Linked DNA regions of Homo sapiens: region 1 is linked to region 2. The links are contacts of gene promoters, found by promoter capture Hi-C in blood cells and fetal thymus (Javierre and others, 2016). All regions are on one chromosome and are shown on one strand. The core of a region is centred on a gene start or on the middle of the fragment in contact, and the rest is flanking DNA. Distances in the headings are between cores, read along the strand shown. Region 1 has its middle 27 kb from the start of LINC02476. Region 2 holds the start of KCND2 (potassium voltage-gated channel subfamily D member 2).

Region 1 (3,941 bases), core at 654-3,153, 340 kb before region 2:
GAGTTGGATATGTATGTGATCGAACTGATGGTTCAGACTGCAGTGAACGTTTTAAATTACAAAGTGAATTTTGATTATTAGAGGGATATCATTCTTATTAGTGTACGTGAATAGACAACTTAAGAATAAGCCCAAGATGTCATCAAGAGACAGGAAATGTATACTCAGGAAAACTCGTTTGAAGGGGCAAAAATTAAAGATATTTATTCTGTAAAGTTCTAATTACTTATGATATTTACTACACACATGTTTTAGATTTCTTATCATCTTTTCTTTTGTTATACTTTGACTTGTCATTCTAGGGCATTTTCTCAGTTTTAACTCCCACATTATTGATTTCATTTTCTCCAATGCAAATTATGTCATATATTGGTTCCTGTATTTTGATTTTTATAGAACCTCATTAAAAGAATAATGTTTATAAGGTATCATCCAGATACCTTATAAACAGAAACTCAACACACACACACACACACACACACACACACACACACACACACACACACATATTATTCTTTCATTCCTATTGGGAAGATAAAGGTAAAAACATGCCATATAGATTAATTTGCAGAATTATTGTAATGTTAATATATCTAGGCCGTTGTCTAGACTAATTAAAAAAAATGAGGGGGACAAAAGGAAATTTAAATTAGCTAGAATAACAGAAATGTAACAATAATGATTATGTCCAGTTTGATTAAATCTTGAAAAATTCAACTTAGTTTGCTTGTTTGTTAGATTTATTACTAAGTTATACAAGGCAGTAAAGGGTATTAGAAAATAACTTAATTCTATCATATGCCTAATTATATTAGCTACTCTTATCCACTATATAATGATTAATATTCACTGATAGTTGTTTTAGATTAATGACTAAGTGAATTTATGTCTGTTCAACATAATCGATGCTATACAACACATAACATTTATGTTAACATTTGAATCATATTAATAGTTATCAATGGAATTAATAGCATTTTTCTTATAATTAGAACATGCAAAAGCTCCTTCCTTGCTTATAGGAAAGCATTATCAAACCAATAGCTTGTCATTAACAATGTTAAATATATAAAATATTAATAATATATAGCAAATTGTTTACATGATAATTTTTTTTCATTTGAAGCAACATAGTGTTTGCCATTTGAATGATATTAAAATACAAAAAATGCTAAAAATAAGCAGTATAAAAAAGGTTTGTACTTAAGGAAAAATGCAAAATTTGAAAAATGCTGTTTCAGGCAAAGATTGGGATAAAGAAAAGGATGAAAAATATATAAGCTAAAATCTAGAAATCCCTTGGCAAAGAAAGACAGGCTCAATATTTAAATAAATCAGGAATAAACACAACTTGTCACAAACAAGTGACAAGGATAGAATTCAGCAAAAAATTTTCATTATGTCTAAAAAAATAATAAATACAGTCTAATAATTTAAGAGCATATTTCAGTCCTTCTTAAGCTTTAGTCAAATACATATGGTTTTAAGTGTCTTCTTGGTTTTACATTCAGAAGCACTTCTCTTCTATAAAACATGCTTGTTTATGCATATAAATACATATTTTTAAGAACTTATGGCGACATGTGTTCAAATATCGAATAGTTAATATATACATATATTTCAAAAAGAATTGCACTGAGAGATTTAAATTACTTTAAAATCGTCATGCTTACTGGAAGTATTGGGCATTTAAGTCAATCTGTAATTTTTTATGGTAATATAATTAGTATAGAAAGTTTTTAGGTGCAATGAGAACTTGTATTGAAGAGCACTATAATATAATAAGGTGTCTTTTCACCTATGTATTTAATACCATGTGCATGAGTTATATATTTAATGTCATATGCATATCGGTTTTACTATCTATTTGAAAAATAATTATGCTTTTAGGTGGCATATTTGCCAAGATTCTTTTCATTTTGGCATTTCTAATCATCCTGGAGTTTTTAATGTATAAAAATTATTTTTCTTTCATGTTGTAGATTACATTCAAATGGTATCTTGAACTAAATTATTAACAATAATGGGCATTTATGGAGATATCACTCATACATGAAATAAAATAGATTATTTTAGTCTTGCCATATCAGCACTGGTACTTATTCAAAACCATTATGCTTTTTCCTCCTATTAAAATTGATTACTTTGAATTTGAAATTGAGTATTTAAAGACTTAAAGAGGAAGGGCAGCAATATTCTTGATTATGCCACGGGGTGAGGGATTCAGTCCTGAAGGAAAATACTGAAGTTTCTCTATAGTTAATATCTCATCATGGAAAGTAAAAGCACTTGAAATTTTTGGACCAGGATGCAGAGAAACACAAAACATTTGCCAAAGATATAAGCAAAGCTTATTACAAGGTTGGGTTCATTGATAGTATTCACATTAATTTCTGCTGCAGAAAATAAGAGTGTCTTGAGAGCAAGGGCAAAGTTGCCTCATAAGGAGTTTTTCTTTTATTGTGTGAAAACTGCTTCAATACTCAAAGCTTAAGGGCATTTTGCTCTGGCATCACTTTGAAAATGCTTCCTTCTGCTTCAGTTACCAGAGGACGCCTAAGCTGATCTTGAAAGTGTTTACAGACATTGTTCTCATGTTCACAATTTATCAAATGCTTTTGGTGCATTACTAGAGATCTAGGCAACCTTTCAGTGCAAAGGACCATGAAACTACTCTTTCCCTAAGTTTTATAATAGCTTCATTATCTTTATTTAATGTTTGTGTAACTAATGAACCCCTAAAAATAAAACCATAAAATAGCATGATTGATCATTTGACTTAATGAGTTAATATAACAGAGATTATAGATCCAAATGAAGATTGCAGTTTTGCCAATAACTTCTAAAGAATTTTTGAAGTGATCTTCAAATCATGTCAAATATCCTTTATCCATCTTTATTGGTGGTAAATTTTGCTTTTGGAAAGAGTTGCACTAAATTAGGGGTCAAACTAGTGAATAAGTAAACAATTAAATAATTACATTTCAGTGAAAAAAATAGATTATAAGCTAAGAGGTGTATTTCCATATCTGTTGCAGGTCTGTATTCTGTCGCTGAAGAGAGTGAGGATAATTCAGATGACCCTGAGCGCCAAACAACTCAACGGTGTAAAAATAAGGCACAACCCCTGGAACTTTATAATACAAGTCATAACACAAATGAGACCTGGGTCATAAAGACCCAAAAGGAAATCAAAGAGTAGTCACAGCCCTGTGTTTGTTGCCAAATAATGTGTAAACCTTCTATTAAAAATGCTCAGTGAGTAGTTGTATTGAAATGAATTGGATTGAGACAAAACAGTATTTTCTCTCCAGAGAGAAAATTAGTATTGATTCACTTTCTCCTTGAATTATTTTCTATTAAGAAATGTATAGACAAATAAGATAAATTATCTCTTTTTGCTTATAAAATATTGTATTGGAACTCCTCATCCAGATGAATACTAAGGGGATCTTTCATAGTTCTTAAGATAAAGATTATTTTCACTCTCTAGGTTTCCACGGTATTCATTTGGGTCTATTTATGTCATTAGAGTACCCTTCTTGTTTTTACCCAAAGTCCGTATCATAAATGACTGTTAGATGTTCTGTGAAGAATACCACAAGATGGCAGTATTTCGGAAATGAATCCTTAGATTACTTCTGTATCCTATCTAAAATAACATAATAGCTTTGGTTATATTTTTAGGGACTAAAAATATTCAGTTGTCATTTCAAGTGATTAAGAATTAATGATAGTATAAAATCTGTTTAGTAATAAGTTGTTTCCTTTAAGTAATATAACTATCAGTTTGATTGTTCCAAAACATTAGTAAGCTTCATCAACATATAAATGAGTTGAAGCTAGAGAATTGTCAGTAGATTCATAAATCTCATAATTGCTTACATGTTGGTCTATAACTATAACCATACTTTTAAATTGTTTGAAAAAATAACTCATCC
Region 2 (4,294 bases), core at 1,230-3,729:
TATATATATGTTTAGAGGTTCAAATACTTGCCACTGTGTTACAAATTGCTTACAGTGTTCAGTACAGTAACATGATGGCAGGTTTGTAGTCTAGGAGCAATAGGCTGTACCATATAGCATAGGTGTGTAGTAGGCTATACCACCTAAGTTTGTGTAAGTACGCTCTATGATATTCAGACAGTGATGAAATCTCCTAAAGACACATTTCTCAGAATGTATCCCTGTCATTAAGCAATACATAACTATGGAAAGTATCTAAGGGAATTCCAAATACGGGCTGGATAAAATGAATTGCATTAGCATTATGCATTACAATAAAAAAGAACCAATATTGAGTACACTTCATGTGCTAAGTATTTCACTGGTGTTCAGAAGTATGATCCTGTTTCATCTTCACGACAGGCCTGAAAAGTTAAATTTCATTATCTATAATTTCTAATCATAGAAGTAATTTGCCAAATGAAACAAAGCCAGTAAGTAATTTCTTAAGCAAGATTTTGAATTTAGATGTGTTTAAGTTCTCAGCCCACATTCTTTCCACTATATCAAGAAGCTTGTTGAAGATGCAGGAGGGCAGATCCCAGTACCTTCTTAAAAACTGTACATATTATGTTCTTGCTTCTTTGGGGCTTTTGTGAGTTAAGCTCCTACTTTTACATTTGTAAGCATTCAGTTTCCCACACAGTTTTAAAGGCTCTATTTAGGTTCCTCGCCCCATCTTTACAGGAAAGCATGCCATTATTGGCATTGATTAAATATTCATGGCGCTCCACCCTCTGGATTCCATGCCCAGCACCTGTCATAGTGCCACCTTACTGTTTGGACTAACGAGGGGTTGGTTTTCTTATATTAATTGGTAGTAAGCCCCTCATTTCCATTTTCCAGGTAACATGCTTGTGTGTTTGTTTTCAGGTATGCAGGCTATATAGATTGGTTAACAAGCATCTTTCACTTAAACAAATAGATAAAGAGCAGGTGTCTTCAGTTCCTTGTCCTCAAACTTAAATGGTGCATTAGCTCTGACTTCATTACTACTGACACAGGATTCCTTAAATCTCTATTCTGTAAACAAATAAACAAACAAAAAATACCCTTTTATCTCTACAGAAAATCCTGTACATGATAAGGATATTTTAAATTCTCTGGTTATTTTCTATACTCATTTTTTAGTTTATATATTTTCTTTGACGTATCCCATTTCAAATTTTCAAGGTTGACACATCATGCCTGTAATCTCTAGGGCTTAAAAGTCAATTTCCGTAAAGTACAACACACAGTCCACTTATTTTACAAACCAAGGGCAGTCAAACCAAGCCATGAAAAGTAATTTTTAGGTAGAAATTAGGCTACTATTCTTCATCAATACAGATGAAGCCTCATTATTGCCAAAGATCTTAATTACTATGATGATGATGATTCAGTAATCTAGATTTAATTTTCAAAGGAATTTCAAAAGGAAACTCTCCACATCTCATCCCACAACTATCCAAATGCAGACTCAAGCCTAAGTAGTATATGTCACATAAACACAAAAAAGGTGGGTGGCAGCGAAGGGGTTTGGGGATGTTTATGTGATCTGACTCTCTGTTGGACCAGTTAATTTTGATCCTTCACCTTCCTAAAGCATCCAAACCTTAGGTGCAGATTTAACTTCTCGCCATCCACGCCATCTAGTGGCTTGTATGTGTTACGTTTGGTTTTAAGGATGATTCCTAATGACTCGGGGGCGGGGTACGCGAAAAACAAAAAGGTTGGTAGCGACAATTTTCCTGTGTCTCTCTACCTCAGTAACCCCTCATACGAACACCTTTAACTCTTTTAACTATTTTAAATATGCGCAGTGATGCGCAGAGAGGATGAAGGGGACGCAAACTTTCAGAGACGCACGCCCCTTGACGATGACATTTAGAAAAGGGCTCCACATCCCTGTTATTCGTAAAGGACGGGAAAAGGAGTTGTGTCAAGACCTCGATCGAGGAGAGTCTCTGATTTTTTGGCAAGTTGGACAGATGGCATATCAATCCCTGCAACGTTAACAATCTGGTTTTGAAAATAAATAAAAACAGAAAGAGGAAATGCACTTAAAAATTCCGCGTCGGAGCTTTGCGGGTCTTGCCTTCCAGTCGCCCCCAGAAGACAACCAATTCCTGCGCATTCCGCTCCGCTCACCCTCCTTCCCAGCTTCTCTCGCTCTCTTTCCCCCCATTTTCCCACGCTCGCCTTGAACCGGGACTCGAGAGGCAGAAGCAAGGCACGGGTCCCCTTTCTCCTCTCCTCCACCAAACCACCGCAGCCCAGCACGTGAAGCTTCCCTTTGTTCATCCGAGGCTCGCTTTTCTCCCCAGCAGATCCACCTGGATGCTCTCCCTCGGTGACATTTTGCGCCGGGGTTGGTGGGTGGCTGGGGTGGAGCGAGAGGAGCCCGAGGGGGCGGGGGCGGAGAAAGGTCAAGCCGAGGGAAAGGCAGGAGACGCCTTTCCTAACCTGCGTGGCGGGGCGTGCGCGCGGTTATTTATTTATTTTCTCCTTATTTATTGATCGCACTAGCAGAGCAGCGCGGGGAGCCCGGGGAGATGCAGGACCACCCACTGGCGGGGAAGCAGCTAGCAGCCCTCCCGCGCCCCCGCGCTGCCGAGCGCCTTCTGCCTCCGCGCTCGGACGAGAGCCCGTGCCGGCCCCGGCCCCGGCCCCACCGCGCCAACGCCGCCCGCCCGGCCGCCCCGCAGCCCCGCCGCCCCGCAGCCCCGCACCGCGCTGGCCAGGCTCCCGCGACAGTGGCCCCGCAGTAAGTTGGCAGGAGCGAGTCCCCTCCGTTCTCGCCTCCCCCGCACCTTTTGAACTTGTTGCTGCTGCTCTGCTCGCCTGCGCCTGGCTTTTGGAAGGTGAAAAGGAGGAGGGAGGCACGGAGGGATGGGGGAAGGGAAAGAAGAGCTCGCTTGAGCTTTATTTATGCTCTCTCGGCGCATCGGATTCGGCTGCTCGCGAGCTGCTTTCTCTCCTCTTCCCTTTCCGGGTGCACGGCGAGGAGAAAGTCTCTATGCAACTAAGCCCCGGCGCGCACTTGGCCAGGTATGTACCGCGGGAGCGGCGCGTTCTGCGCGGAAGCAGATGCTGCTGCCGCCACGGCGGCGGCGGCTGCCAGCTCCTGAGCTCTGTAACTGTCACACTGCACCTGAGCTGAACTTGAAAAGAGAGTGAAGGGGCGATTGGGCGAACGCTTTTGGCAGACACAGAGGGTGTTTGTAGACGTGGGGGAGGAGAATCTCTATTAACGCCCCCCACCGTAACCACTGCACATCACCTCCATCTCTGCAAATACAGCCCGAGGAGTAGAGGCAGCAGCAGCTGGACCCCCAAAGAGAGACGTGGGGCAGCGGCTGTGACCGCATCTCCTGAGCTACAACAACAGGTCGCCTTTTTGAGACTCCTTTGGCGGGAAGGGCTACTTGGAAAGGAAGGTTTGAAAGAGTGAGAAGGGTAGGTGTAAGGGTTCCCTAATTCGTCGAAAGAATTCTATTGGGTGACTCTCGTTCGTCTTCTCTATCCTACACTCCACATACTGACCCTATATTATCCAGACTGTGCCGGGGAGAAATCAAAAACACCTGTTTGAAGAAACGGCTGCACCTGTGTGCTTATTTGTGCCAGAGGGTGGCCTAGCCCACCTGCAGGAAGAGATTTGGCTGGGTTCTGTTGAGGGTGATTGTTAGGACGTTGTATTTTGTTGCCATTATTCCAAATACCTGTCTTGGAGGGAAAGTTGCCCTTCTGAGAACTGTGACTTTACCAGGAGCCCTATCTTGGAATAAGAGTTACACCTCTGGACCACGTTTCTCACTAGTACTTTGCTTGACTGGAGGAAGTGGGTGACTTTTGGCTGCTTCGGTGACCCATTGTAGACGCCTCGTTACCCTTCTTCCTTCCGCTTCAAGTAATCATGGCGGCGGGGGTGGCAGCGTGGCTGCCTTTTGCAAGGGCAGCGGCTATCGGGTGGATGCCTGTGGCCTCGGGGCCTATGCCGGCTCCCCCGAGGCAGGAGAGGAAAAGGACCCAAGATGCTCTCATTGTGCTGAATGTGAGTGGCACCCGCTTCCAGACGTGGCAGGACACCCTGGAACGTTACCCAGACACTCTACTGGGCAGTTCTGAGAGGGACTTTTTCTACCACCCAGAAACTCAGCAGTATTTCTTTGACCGTGACCCAGACATCTTCCGCCACATCCTGAATTTCTACCGCACTGGGAAGCTCCACTATCCTCGCCACGAGTGCATCTCTGCTTACGATGAAGAACTG

Evidence for each region. Contacts are between HindIII fragments. The CHiCAGO score rates a contact against its expected background, and 5 or more counts as called.
Region 1: a fragment that was not itself captured here is called in contact with the fragment with the promoter of KCND2 in region 2 in 3 of 17 cell types (megakaryocytes, M2 macrophages and M0 macrophages); the score reaches 7.1 in megakaryocytes.

The regions. Positions count from the first base shown.
Region 1 is chr7:119,932,014-119,935,954 of GRCh38, forward strand. No RefSeq gene overlaps it. Among named protein-coding and RNA genes, the nearest start is that of LINC02476, 27 kb to the left of the region's middle. The HindIII fragment of the contact is 889 bases long and covers 1,460-2,348 here.
Region 2 is chr7:120,270,696-120,274,989 of GRCh38, forward strand. It overlaps KCND2 (potassium voltage-gated channel subfamily D member 2), which reads left to right and starts at 2,480. Exons shown (of 6, transcript NM_012281.3): 1 at 2,480-4,294. The coding sequence starts at 3,938. RefSeq lists silencers at 1,567-1,666, 2,586-2,735 and an enhancer at 3,176-3,245. The HindIII fragment of the contact is 3,977 bases long and covers 2,306-4,294 here.